Linked DNA regions of Homo sapiens: region 1 is linked to region 2. Evidence: promoter capture Hi-C in 16 types of primary human blood cells and fetal thymus (Javierre and others, 2016). All regions are on one chromosome and are shown on one strand. The core of a region is centred on a gene start or on the middle of the fragment in contact, and the rest is flanking DNA. Distances in the headings are between cores, read along the strand shown. Region 1 holds the start of JAGN1 (jagunal vesicle mediated transporter 1). Region 2 has its middle 4.0 kb from the start of IRAK2.

What was found. The method cuts DNA at HindIII sites, captures the fragments that hold promoters and counts their contacts. A CHiCAGO score of 5 or more calls a contact.
Region 1: the fragment with the promoter of JAGN1 here is called in contact with a fragment that was not itself captured in region 2 in 1 of 17 cell types (activated CD4 T cells); the score reaches 7.6 in activated CD4 T cells.

What each region holds. Positions count from the first base shown.
Region 1 is chr3:9,889,298-9,891,997 of GRCh38, forward strand. It overlaps JAGN1 (jagunal vesicle mediated transporter 1), which reads left to right and starts at 1,313. Exons shown (of 2, transcript NM_032492.4): 1 at 1,313-1,514. The coding sequence starts at 1,426. The HindIII fragment of the contact is 18,772 bases long and covers 1-2,700 here.
Region 2 is chr3:10,159,597-10,162,296 of GRCh38, forward strand. No RefSeq gene overlaps it. Among named protein-coding and RNA genes, the nearest start is that of IRAK2, 4.0 kb to the right of the region's middle. The HindIII fragment of the contact is 1,059 bases long and covers 822-1,880 here.

The sequences.
Region 1 (2,700 bases), core at 63-2,562, 270 kb before region 2:
CTGTGTTTTCTTGAATTTCTTAGCTTCATGGGTACAAGTTCTTCCCCCGACTGGGCTGGGATCCCTCAGGGGAAATGGACCATGTTTATTTCTGCGTCCCCAGGTCATAGCAGAGCATCCTGGTGCATGGAAGATGCTCACTATACATGCTTTTTTCTTTCTTTTTTTCTTTATTCGGATAATATAACTTCTTTCTTTAAAGTTTCGCTTAGTATTTTGTTGTGGTAAAATGCACATAACATAAAACTTACTATGTTAATCATTTTTAAGTGTACAGTTTCCGTGGCATTAAGCACACACATATAGTTGTGCAATCAGTACCACCATCCATCTCCAGAACTTTTTTCATCTTCCCGAACTGAAGCTCTGTACCCATTAAACACTAGCTCCCCATTCTCTGTCCACCCCTCGAGCTTCTGGCAATGGTCATTCTACTTTGTCTCTACAGATAAAGTTTATTTGGAAATAATTTTTCTTTCATGGCCTTGACATTTTTGAAGAGTACAGTCCAGCTCTCTTCTAGACTGTCCCTCCGTCTGGATTTATGTCATTTCTTCATGATTAGATTCAGTTAGGTATTTTTGGCAGAAACATCATAGAAGTGATGCTGTGTCCTCAGTCTATTAAAAGAGGCACAAGATATCAGTTTATCTCATTATTGATCAAATTAACTGACTATATGTTTAAGGGAGACAAGCCAGATTTCCTCACTGAGAGATTCCCTGTTTCTCTTTGCAATAATTAAATGTGAGAAACTTATTTTGAGACAAAGTCTCACTCTGCACTCTGTCCCCCAGGCTGGAGTGCATTGGCACAATCTCGACTTACTGCAACCTCTGCCTCCCTGGTTCAAGCGATTCTCCTGCCTCAGCCACCCAAGTAGCTGGGGTCACAGGAACCCACCACACCTGGCTAATTTTTGTATTTTTAGTAGAGACGGGATTTCACCATGTTGCCCAGGCTGGTCTTGAACTCCTGACATCAAGTGATCCACCCACCTCGGCCTCCCAAAGTGCTGGGATTAAAGGTGTGAGGCTGTGTGAATGATGTGTGCTCCAGGGAAAGTCATAGAATATATCAGTTTCCCCCTCTGTAAAGTGTGGACAGAAGTATCCTAACTGATATTACAGCTTAAGAAAGTAAAAGTGTTCAAGCGGCCTCTGGGCGCCAGCAAAAGAGGCTGGGGATTAATTTCCTGCGCGCTCCACAAGAGGCGGGGCTGGGCGGGGCGGGGGCGAGAGGGAACGAGGGCGCCTGCGCGGAGAGGAGTGACCATAGAGTCGGTCCTCCAGAGACAGAGGGGCCGGAAGTTCTCTTCACGGAGCCGCGCGGCTGCGGGGGCGCAAATAGGGTCAGTGGGCCGCTTGGCGGTGTCGTTGCGGTACCAGGTCCGCGTGAGGGGTTCGGGGGTTCTGGGCAGGCACAATGGCGTCTCGAGCAGGCCCGCGAGCGGCCGGCACCGACGGCAGCGACTTTCAGCACCGGGAGCGCGTCGCCATGCACTACCAGATGAGGTATGAAGTGAGGCGAGGAGCACGGAGGCTTTCTCCCCCGCTGGAGCCTGCGGGGCTTGGGGAGCGACGCCGGCCCGGCCTCAGGGTCTTGCTCCCCAGCCAGCCCCCGCTCACCTGCCAAGTCCCCTCCTCCCGTGACGGCTTCGGGCCTGTCCCCCATCCTGGAAAGCCCCGTGGCCCCCGCGAGCTCCACCCCTTGTTCCGCCCGGTGCCTTGAGGGGATCCAGCCCCGCGTGGGCTCCCGCCCTGCGTGGGCTCCCGAGTCACGTCGATGCTGGCCCCGCTGTATCACCTTCGAAACCGAATTTCTAATTTGAGCCTCAGCTTCCTCATCTGTAGAGGGAGAGAATAATCTGCCTTTTAGGTTTTGGTGAAAGATTAATCAGTAATTCGTGTAAAGAAAGTAGCATAAGGCCTACCACGTAATATATGGTAGGTGTTATATTTTGGGCCGTTTGGGGGGATATAGACAGTAAAAGGCAGCCTTTCCTAAGGACGCCTTGCCTAAAATGAATTTTATAAACACTCCCACGTAAGGGGTATTTCTACATTCAATTACTAGTTCGACAAATACTGAGCTTCCAAACATCATACACTGCTAGACACTAGGTTATAATAGTGAGCAAAAGCAGACGTGGTCTTTGTATACATGTTATACCTTCAATAAACAATTTTATTAAAGAAAAAAAAAACTGTTCCCTGCCTTCATGGAGCTTGAAGTCTAGAGATGACTGTTTTTTTTTTCCAACCTTTCCACATTTTCTACAATAAATATTTTTAAATAAAAATTTTAAAATTTTTACTTCCTTAAATCCATTGATCTCTCCCAGAATGTTCTTCACATCTCTCTCTCCAGAGTTTTAAAGAATGACAAGCTCTTTGAACTCTCATTTGTTTCACATCTCTAGGCCCCGGCTGAAAGGGCCCTCACAACTTAAGCAGGTGTTTTCATGCCAGCCCAGAGTAGAAACATTGCCTTTAGGGATATGAGGAGGATACGTTTGGGACGTGAGAGAATTAGAAGAATAAGATAAGTATGTACTTCTTTTGGATGAAAAAATCTAGCTGGAGAAGTATGGGCGGCCTGAGTACGTTTCCTCTCTGCCAATACCTTCTCCCGCCAGACTTTAATCCTATGGTGCAGTCAGCGTCCTCTTGCTAAACACAGCTCTGAGCTACCCTTCTG
Region 2 (2,700 bases), core at 101-2,600:
TTCTTTCTGTCTTTGACAAATATCACATGCTATCAGAGAAACCAATAAAGATATTTTTGTTAAAAAAAAATATAGCCGGGCGCGGTGGCTCATGCCTGTAATCCCAGCACTTTGGGAGGCCGAGGTGGGTGGATCACCTGAGGTCAGGAGTTTGAGACCAGCCTGACCAACATGGAGAAACCTCGTATCTACTCAAAATACAAAATTAGCTGGGTGTGGTGGCACATGCCTGTAACCCCAGCTACTCAGGAGGCTGAGGCAGGAGAATTGCTTGAACCCAGGAGGCAGGGGTTGCGGTTAGCCAAGATCACACCAGTGCACTCCAGCCTGGGCAACAAGAGCAAAACTCCGTCTCAAAAAGAGAGAAAAAAAAAGAAAAATATATGCAAAGTGCATAGAGAAGCTTTATTATTCTCCTTTCATCAGTCTTCCCTCCTGCTCCAGCTTTTTTTTTTTTTTTTTTTTTTTTTTTGATATGGAGTCTCACTGTGTCCCCCAGTCTGGAGTGCAGTGGTATGATCTTGGCTCAGTGCAGTCTCCACCTCCCGGGTTCAAATGATTCTCCTGCCTCAGCCTCCCAAGTAGCTGGGATTACAGGTGCGTGCCATCACGCCCAGCGAATTTTTTTGTATTTTTAGTAGAAACGGGGTTCCGCCGTGTTGGTTGGGCTGGTCTCGAACTCCTGACCTCAAGTGATCCACCCACCTCGGTCTCCCAAAGTGCTGGGATTGCAGGCATGAGCCACCATGCTTGGCCTCTGCCCCAGCTTTCTGATATGACTGGTTCTCAACTGTGCCAGCACATATTAGAATTATCTGGGAAGCTTTAAAAAACAGTAGTGCCTGAGCCCCACTCCAGAATAATTGAATCTGTCTCCCTGGAGGTAGGGCTAGGCATTTATACTTTTTAAAAGCACCCCAGATGTTTCTACTGTGCAGCCAGGGTTGCAAACCACTGACTATAATTTCAAGGGAATTAAACTTGAACAGCTCAAAATGACGTAAGTGTGTAATTAATTACATTCAGCCTCAATAACTGTTTCTAACTGATCCTGGTGGGTGTTGGTCATGGAAAATAGCCAGAGGAAGAAATTAACTGCAAGATCAGAGGAAATTTCTTGTGGTGAGGCAGTATAACACAGCAGAAAGAGCATTTGCTTTGGGTCAGACTTGAGTTGCATCCTGTTGATGCGGGACAGGCAAGCCCCCAAATTGGGGTTTAGCCTGGGAGGGTTCTTAGCTTCACCCAGAAAGGAATTCCAGGGCCAGCCAGTGGTGTTAAATAGCACCTTTTATTGAAATAGCAGTGTGCAGCCGCAGCAGAGGTACTGCTCCTTGCAGGGTAGGGCTACTCCATAGGCAGTGTGCCCAGAGTAGTGGCTCAGAGGCAGTTCTACAGTCACATTTATACACACTTTTAATTATATGCAAATTAAGGGGCAGTTTATGCAGAACATTCTAGAAAGGGGCGGTGACTTCTTGGAGTCGCCATGGCAATGGTAAACTGACAAGGTACACTGGTGGCAGTGTCTTATGCGAGGTACTTCCCACCACACCTGTTTTAGCTAGTCCTCAATTTGGTCCGATGTCCCAGCCATTCCTTTCGAGTCGAGTGCTGCCCCCTACCTCACTGTCACTTGGCCAACTTGGCCCAGTTACAATTGACTTCAGCCTCAGTTTCTTCATCTGTAAAACAGAAACAATAAACCTTTGCAGGGTTGTATGGATTACAGATAATGTATGCTAAATGCCTGCTAGGTGAGTTGGTAGGTGAAGGGCAACCATTAGTAATAGCAAAGACCTTACTTTGAAGAACTTATTCTAAAGAGTGGTAACTGAGATGTGTCCCTGTGATGACCTGCTCAGGCCCAAAATGACTCAAGCTTCTCTGGAAGACAGAATCCTAGGACACAGATCCCAAGCCCTGAGGCTGGGGTGAGAAGGAATTGCGGGAAGGGCCTGAGGATGCAGCAGAGAGAGCAGTGGGGGCTCCTCTGCCTTCCAGGATTGACCAAGGCTGAATGTGAAACTTCCGTGGTCTTAAAGCCTCACCCCAGGGAAGAGGCCCTGTGGCACTGAGGGAGGAGCTCTACACACACGCTGCTTGCGGAAGAGAAGGAGAAGCAGGTAGGGGACTCTGCAAAAAGAGAAAAGGAGAAAAAGAAGAGGATCTTTATTCTCTTTTACCCCCGTGTGCCTGGGATGGAGATGCTTCTCCACCCAGCCTATGGCAAACAATCATTACAGTTCCCAAGTCCACCTTCAGCCACTGCTGAAAACACAGGACTTCACTTGAAAAGTAGTCTCAGAACACTGAAATATGTCCCACTTTCAACATCAAGGAGGACATAATAGTAATCCTTTACTGGGCTCAGCACTTCACAGTTGATCTTGAGCGTTTTGGAGTCCATTTAGGCTTCATAACAATCCTTCCAAGTGGCTGCAGCAGGAGATCCAGTTTCCAAAAGGGAAAACAGAACTGGCTCAAAGGACTAAGAGCCGGAGAGTGGCTGAACCAGGTCTCCAAACTTGATAGGACTCCAAGGCCAGTGGGTGCCTTTTCAAGACCACTAATGACAGCTACCATTTTTTGGGCACATTCTCTGTGCGAGGAAAGCCCTGTAGTAGGTGTTCTATATAGGCTACATAATTTGATTTATTCCACTCCCCTCACAACTCTAAGCAGTAGGAAGGAGCAGGC